Regions from separate parts of the Homo sapiens genome. Here all the other regions are linked to region 1. The links are contacts of gene promoters, found by promoter capture Hi-C in blood cells and fetal thymus (Javierre and others, 2016). All regions are on one chromosome and are shown on one strand. Each heading gives the region's core, a stretch centred on a gene start or on the middle of the fragment in contact. The rest is flanking DNA. Distances are from core to core; before and after follow the strand shown. Region 1 holds the start of PDCD10 (programmed cell death 10). Region 2 overlaps MED12L (mediator complex subunit 12L). Region 3 overlaps MFN1 (mitofusin 1).

The links. The method cuts DNA at HindIII sites, captures the fragments that hold promoters and counts their contacts. A CHiCAGO score of 5 or more calls a contact.
Region 2: a fragment that was not itself captured here is called in contact with the fragment with the promoter of PDCD10 in region 1 in 1 of 17 cell types (total CD4 T cells); the score reaches 7.5 in total CD4 T cells.
Region 3: a contact is called between a fragment that was not itself captured here and the fragment with the promoter of PDCD10 in region 1, in 2 of 17 cell types (neutrophils and non-activated CD4 T cells). The highest score is 7.3, in neutrophils.

The regions. Positions count from the first base shown.
Region 1 is chr3:167,733,580-167,736,162 of GRCh38, forward strand. It overlaps PDCD10 (programmed cell death 10), which reads right to left and starts at 1,313. Exons shown (of 9, transcript NM_007217.4): 1 at 1,083-1,313; 2 at 635-771. SERPINI1 (serpin family I member 1) reads left to right here and starts at 2,142. Exons shown (of 9, transcript NM_001122752.2): 1 at 2,142-2,244. RefSeq lists a silencer at 945-1,074 and an enhancer at 1,125-1,564. The HindIII fragment of the contact is 6,113 bases long and covers 1-2,417 here.
Region 2 is chr3:151,213,550-151,216,132 of GRCh38, forward strand. All of the region lies in intron 16 of MED12L (mediator complex subunit 12L), which reads left to right. It overlaps P2RY14 (purinergic receptor P2Y14), which reads right to left. Exons shown (of 3, transcript NM_014879.4): 3 at 1-791. The coding sequence starts at 767. Among named protein-coding and RNA genes, the nearest start is that of GPR171, 12 kb to the left of the region's middle. The HindIII fragment of the contact is 6,767 bases long and covers 1-2,583 here.
Region 3 is chr3:179,350,087-179,352,669 of GRCh38, forward strand. MFN1 (mitofusin 1) reads left to right here. Exons shown (of 18, transcript NM_033540.3): 3 at 1,814-1,949. Among named protein-coding and RNA genes, the nearest start is that of MFN1, 3.7 kb to the left of the region's middle. The HindIII fragment of the contact is 1,207 bases long and covers 682-1,888 here.

The sequences.
Region 1 (2,583 bases), core at 63-2,562:
CAAAAAAGACGATGTTACCTCCAAGAAATGCAAAATACCTTCTTTTCTAGTAATGGGCACACTAAACTCTCCTAACGCTACATTATTTGAAAAAAGTGTAGTTTTGTGAAAGAATTCCAATCCCACTATTATCAGTTTTACAAAATGAGAGTAAAAACAGTCCTAAGGTAGAAAAAGAAAAGAATATTCTTCTAAGGATGGGATATATTGTTTAACTGTTGTTCTCCCATCCTATTACCTACCCGTAAAAATGAACTGTGAGAGTAGAGTCTATCATTTAATACACCCCTAAAAAAAGGGGAAAAATCTGTAAAAGTTGAAACTGGCCATTTTTATTTTTTCCAAAAGGATCTTTCCTTTATTGAGGAATTTCACTCCGGTTCAAGAAACAACTTTTTATCTCACAATGGCTTCTTAGATATACTATATAAAATACATTTACTTTGTAACTTCCTCCACCCTTTTCAAAAAGCACAACCAACGTCCCTACTCTAAAGCTGGACTCGAACCGAACTAGATTCAGAAAGTCTGTCCCTACGTGTGTGACCTTGGGCACGTCATATAATCCCTCGGTTTCCTCATCAGCATCCCAAAATGAAAGCGCTCTGAAAGCAGTAAAGGAGTAAAAACATACCTTAGGTATGACACCTAAGAGGGTCAAGTCTTTCTGTTTAAGGCAAAATTATCTCCTTAGAGGGCCACATCATTAAACTGGAACTGAATCCGTAGACCCCAACATTTGTCTCTTCCTTCTTCCAGTGCTCCTCTTCCCTCAAAGGGCATAACCCGAGTCACCCCCAAGAGCCGACTCCCAAGCACCCTTTCCTTCCTCCTCCCTTTTCTCTTACTTACAAAGCAGGGGGAAAACAGCAGCCTCACCTCTCGGTCCGAAGCCACACCTTCAAAGGACCCCACCCCAGGCACATCCGCCCTGTCCCCTCTCCCGGGGCACCAGGGGCCAACCTCGCCCTTCCCCTCCCGCCCCCACCTAGAGGAGACTTCCTGGAGGCGTTCGGGCCCAAGCCGGCAGGCGGCATTTACAAACCCGCTTTACGCCACTCGCGTAGGGTAACCTCGCTTACGCCCGTAGGGCCCCGCTCTCAGCCCCGTCCGCTCCGCCTGCCAGAACCAAGCCCAAGTGCCTCAGCCATGGCCCCTGCGTGACCCTAGACCTCTTCTGCTCGGTGCAGAGCTACGGGGACTGGGACAGAACAGCTACACCTTACCAGCAACTGAGGCACTGACTTCACTTCCCACCTTGCAGCCCTCTTCAACTCCCGGATCAATTCACTCCGGCGACGCCGGAAGGACCCAAGAGGAACCAGGCGTTGTCCGGAATCCTGCCCAGCCGGAGTCGTGCAGAGGCTTATGGGGACTCGTAGTCCCGCTCGCCGGCGTTGTCCGCAATTCCTGCAATCGGAAGACTACACTTCCCGGCAGGCCATGCGGGGGATCCTGAGGCGATGGGTGGTGACACTTCTAGCCAATAGTAGGAGAATTCCCTGCCTTTGCGGGAGGAGGTGAGATGAAGAGAGATGGTGCACGGAAAGGAGAGGAAGGGCGGGGCAAGCCCTCACCTGCGCCAATCAGGGTGCGGAGTAGGCCCCGCAGGCGCCTCACCCATTGAGGGGGCGGGCTGACAGAGCAGAGGAAGGAAGGGGGTGAGGGGCCTGTGGTGGGGATCCTGGGGCTGTCGGGCTGAGTATGCCGTGTGGGTGGAGAGGAAGCCTCGGGGAAATCGCCCAGGTGAAGGGAGGGCTTGGTGTGGGGACTTGCACTGGGCAGAGGGGCAGCTTCCCTGAGAGCAGCTAAGCCCCAGGCACACCGGGCATCCGGACACACAGGTCGGGGAAGGATAGGCTGAGCCGGGGCTCCCAGCAGAGACGCCTGGGTGGGGCAGGAGGCCGCTCCAGGTGTGAGCCACAGAGGAGGGGAGAGGGACCCCCACGGGAGTGGAAGTGGCAGAGCAGCTGCAGAAGTGCAGGGAGCGGAAAGGTACCAGGGCAGCTGCTTTCCGCTGCCTCCGGTCCGGGCAGCTGCAGAAACAGCAGGGGGAGGAGCAACAGCTGCCAAATTCGCCAACTAGAGGAGGGAGAGGCGGAGCTTGGGTCCCTGTAGAAGCCAGAGGCGCAGTCTGGACTGTAGTTTCCCGGGAGAGACGAAAGCAGGAACGAGAGCGGAGCGGAGCACAGTCCGCCGAGCACAAGCTCCAGCATCCCGTCAGGGGTTGCAGGTGTGTGGGAGGTAAGCGTGGGTCCTTCTTCGGGGCGTCTGCACTGCCCTGGAGAAAACGTCTTCCAATAGGAATTACATCAAGACACAGCTAAAAGAGTCCGCGTTGGGTTAGGAAACCGGTGCAAAACCTCTCGGGTGAAAGATTTACATTTTTCGACTTTAAGGGCAAAAAAGCAAAAGGAAGCTTGACTCTGGGTATAAAGGGCGTGGTTAGTGTTTTTGGTTTGAGTTGCACCAGTAAAACTGTTCTGGGAGATCTGAAGATTGAGAAAAATCCTGCTAATTGAGGACGAGGTGGATGTTATCTGGTGGATGTTATAGGTGCGTAGCCTATAAAAAGCAAAAATT
Region 2 (2,583 bases), core at 23-2,522, about 17 Mb before region 1:
TAGGGGATTCTGGCAATATGGTAAGGTACAAAACAGACAAAAAACACAAACACGATGCTGAATATGTTGCGGCTAGATTTCTTTTTGACCGAAGTGGAATTCCGACTTGACTTAAGGTGGGACTTAAAGATTTTCTTTGTGATAGCAGTATAGAAAACGATTAACAAAAGAAACACAATCCAGAAGATGGCCACGAAGATGTAGTTTGATGCTTTGTGCCACTTCCGTCCCAGTTCACTTTTCAGTTCTATACATTTTATTTGTGTAACCTCCCTAACACTCTGGTTGGTGAGAATAATATTTGGAACAGCAAGGAGGAGCATGAGCATCCATACTATCACTGACAGAAGTTTGCTGTAACTCACTGACTGGATGAAAGAAGTCCAAAGAGGCTTTACAATTTTATAATATCTGTCAAAGCTGATGAGCCCAAAGAACACAATGCTGACGTACATGTTGACGTAGAAGAGCACGGCAGAGACCCTGCACACAAACACGTTCAGCTGCCAGGGACCAAGGCCTGAGTCACCAAGGATCTTGAAAGGAAAAGTCAGGCTCATCACAAAGTCAGCAATAACAATGTTCTTGAGATAGATGATGAAACTCTTAGAGCTGGGCACGTAAAAGAATATCCATCCTGACACTCCATTGAGTAGGATTCCTGCAATGAAGACCATACAGTACAGCACAGGAATGATCTGCTGAGTGATCAGGAGGTTCTGAGAGCAGGATTCATCTGGAGGCTGTGTGGAGGTTGAATTGATCATCTTGTAACTTCTGAAGGCAGAGGCCTGAAAAGAGGTGTGAACTGGTCACTCATAGGGCACTTATGGCCTCCAAGACATTTGCTGAGTAATAAGGCAAAGGGCAATGAATATAGTCAAACCTACCAAATTTTTGAAGCCACCTTTTTACTCTGTGTAAGTTAGACACTCATCCCTCCCTCCCTCTGTTCTTCCTTTTCTTTCTTTTGGTCTTCCTTTTCTCCTTTCCCTCCCTCTTTCCCCCTTTACCCACCAACCCCCACTCCTTTCTTCCTTCTCCCCTCTCCCCCTCCCTTTTCCCTCCTCTTCCTTCTTCCTTTTTTTTGGGCAATGAAAAGGGAAGAATGGAGCAGACAGGTGGCAGTAAAGAGAAACTGGAGCAGCAGGGCAGTCTCTGAGAACTTCTAGGTAATACGGAGACCAGCATGCCCCTAAAATAATAATGGTTCCCTATAAAACTCCAGAGTTCTAGGAAATACTCATTTAGGTATAATCTTAAAAGGTAGTAACTGTAAAAGCAGAATTAATGTTTTATTTTATTCAGAATCCCATGTGTAATGTATTTTTTTAAAACCTATGTTGGAAATGTGATTGTTTTTTCCTAAAAGAGAAATTTTTATGGATTCATAAAAATCATTATAAATGTTTACATATTAAGAGCTATTCAGACGGACCTTACTTTTAGAAAAGTGTATTCTACATATATGTTGGACATGAAGACAGTGTCTAACAAACATATACATTCAAATGTTAACCGGTATTTTTGGTATGGGATTATGGGTACCTTTTCAATATTGAGCTTTTTTTTTTTCCCATTGAAAAACTGATTTGCATTATTTTAATAAATTAGAATACAAATACAAACAAATGATAAAAAGTACTTTAAGCATTCTGAGAAATGCTTCCCAAAGTACATTCTACATCTGTACTATTCAGTATGGTAGCCACTAGCCATGTGTGGGTATTGAGCACTTGAAATATGGCCAGTCCAGATTGAGATGTTCTGTTAAGTATAAAATGCACACTAGACTTTGCAGACTTGGAATGAAAAAATGTAAAATATCTCAGTATTTTTAATACTGATCACATGTTGAAGTAATATTCTACAAATGCTCTATTAAATAAAATATATTATTACTCTTAAATTTAACTTAATTTTACTTTTTAAGACTCTGGCTACTAGGAAATTTTAAATTACATATGTGTTTCACATTATGGTTTTATTGCACAGTGCTGTGCTAGGTGTTATCCAGAACTTCTATTGTTTAGGAATCCTGTATATTCTTCACTGATGTCGGAAGTGTTGATTTAGGGCAGAGGGAAGACTAGAATTAAATTCAAAAGGTTATTTGATATATCGGAACAGATGTTTACTGCCCATCTTATATGTGAACAGTACCAATTATCCTGCTTAAAACCCTTTAGTAGTCTGTCCTTGCCCTCAGGAGAATGCCCTAAGTCTGTAATGTTGAAGTCCTTTCTTGTTCTGCCTCCTGCTTCCTCCACCCCCAGCACTGAGTTCCTGCTGTCCTGGGCCCATCTGCCTCCTTTTAGGTTCTGTGATTTCTCTCAGCCTGGACCTTTGCACAGACTTTCATTTGTGTGGAAAACTGTTTCCATACCTTCTTGGCTGGCTAACTTCTCTTTATCCTCAAGGCCTCAGCTTAGCTGTCACTTTCCTTAGGAAACCTCAACTTTCCTAGCCTGGTTTGGGGTGGGTTGAGTGTGTGCTTATCATCCTGTGTCTTTCTCCTATCAACACTCCTCTCTCCAGCTGTTTGTCTCTTCCACTACTACAAGCTCCTTCAGAGGAGAAAGA
Region 3 (2,583 bases), core at 35-2,534, about 12 Mb after region 1:
AGGTTGCAGTGAACCGAAGTCGCCCACTGCACTCCAGCCTGGGTGACAGAGTGAGACTCCATTTCAAAAAAAAAAAAAGATTATGCACCTCTCAACTATACAATGGAAAGGGAGGGATTCTGTAAATTTTTCCAGCGACAGTGGGGAAACCTTTGGTAGATTGGGAATCAAACTTTTTTTTTCATGTCTCTCCCAACCCTCTCTTACCATATTTTGAGCTCCTTTAGGGCAGGAGCCTGGGATTCATTGTATTCCTAGCACCAGACTTGACACAATTCAATGCTGAATGAGAAAAAAAAAATAGTAGTATAGAATCTTTGTTTCCAATTAGGAAATAATTTGAGCTGGCACAGTTGACTTTTTAAAAATATTTTTTTTTCTAAAAATAATAGGAAGTGAAAATGAAGTTAAATGTGTATTGTACGTGTTATAGATCATGCATCATGCTAGGCACTAGTGAAATGACAGCTTTAGAATCTGAATTCAGTTGTACAGGTTTTAGAACCTCAGTAAAAATGTTGCAAAAAGGAGACAAAGCAAATAAATCAAGAAAAACATACAAGAGCAAAAATAAAATGAAAAGCAAAAATAAATGTAATGATACTTAAACCAGTCTGTCCGTTATTCACCAAATTGCACATATTTTATTAATGCGTTAGAAAAGTATGGTGAGATATGAGAAGCTTAATTGGATGTGCACTGGAGAAGTTTTAAGTGGCAGTGTTTGTCTCTAATTAGGGTCATTCAGATAGCCAGATGAATCTTTTTGTTTTTGTTTTTGTTTTTTTGAGACGATGTCTCACTCTGTCACCCAGGTTGGAGTGCAGTGGCACCATCTCGGCTCACTGCAAACTCTGCCTCCGGATTCAAGTGATTTCCAGCTAATTTTTGTACTTTTAGTAGAGATGGTGTTTTACCATATTGTTCAGGCTGGTCATGAACTCCTGACCTCAAGGGATCTGCCCACTTCGGCCTCCCAAAGTGCTAGGATTATAGGCGTGAGCCCCCACGCCCACATGAATCTTCATGTCTTTACCTTCAAAAAGAGGTGATAAGAATGTAAACATCAGGTTATCTCCTATTCCTGAGTTATAAAAAAAACTGAAAGATTTTTCTATTTTTCAAACCCAGGCTTTTTCAACTACCTCCAGCCATGGAGGAGAGGTGAGGGCTGGGATGTGCGGTTAAACCCTAAACCTGATAAGAGTGAAAGTGGGATACAATCTGATGAGATCGAGTGCATTCAGGGTGGTATGGCTGTAGATAGGATACAACCTGTAATTCTCTTTCTTCTCTGTCTTTGTGTTAAGTGAGCTGTTTCACCTCATCCCTGGGGGAAGCAGATAGAACGTGGTAAAGTAGCAAGGTCTTTCCTAGCTTGGAGACCTTGCACTGTATCTTAATTTCTGAGGGGCTCCTATTCAAACCTCACTTTTTTCTCTCAGTATGTGGCTCCCCCTTCTGAGCTCAAGATCTGAAGATCCATTCAGTCAGGTTGGAACAATAATAGGTCAGTGTTAGGTTCTAGTTTCTCTCTTTAGAAATGTATTCTTGTCTCAAGGGTAGCTTGTATGTTTGAGACCTAGAAGTCCACTTTTGACTGTGCCCTTGCAACTTTTAATATTCTTGAAATTCTTTTGGGCGGGATTCTTGTGACCCATTGCCACGGAGTATGCACCTTTTACCAAACATTGAGATGCTGTGGGTGGCATGTTAACATAAAGCAAAAATACATACAATCTTAGGTATTCCATTATATAACTAACTTAATATTCATTTATATCACTTTTCTAATGCCATTTCAATTTTGCAGCAACATATAAGAATCCGGAACTTGATCGAATAGCCACTGAAGATGATCTGGTAGAAATGCAAGGATATAAAGACAAGCTTTCCATCATTGGTGAGGTGCTATCTCGGAGACACATGAAGGTGGCATTTTTTGGCAGGTAATTATTTATTATTACTTCTAAGATTAGTTTCCAGGAATCAGCTTTGTGTCTGATGTTTCAACAAGTAATATTTCTCCCATCCTCCCCCAGCCCCGCAAGTTTCTGCCTGTGTTGAATGTTAAAGCTGTTAGCATGTGAAAGAATTTGTGCATTTTACCTCCTGGTATAAAATGAAGCTTTATGAAAGTCAATCATATTTTTACCTTTTAATGATTCTCATCTCTAAGAATTGGCTTGTAGACAGTTTTAAGAATGGAAATATAGATAAATGATAAGCATACTTTGTGTTTTACTCTTTTAAGTTTACTTGATTATGTGAAAGTTTCAGAAGCTAGGATGAAATCACTTTTGTCATACCTAGACAGGCCTAGAAGGAAAGAGGCTCTTGTCTGAGATAACTATTTCCAAGGACTTTCTAGAAATTCTTTCAAATCTCCTGCTTTGATAAGACTTATCAATAAACATACTTTAGGACTGCCTTAATTCAGATAAAATGTTTTCAGGAGAGTTCTTGCCCAGTAATGGCATCTCCGCCAATGAACTGACAATAACTGGCGTTGAACCTCTGGAACCAAATAACTCTTGTTTCTAGGCAGCTTATGTAAATCTCTTTTTGCTAATAGAAACCCCT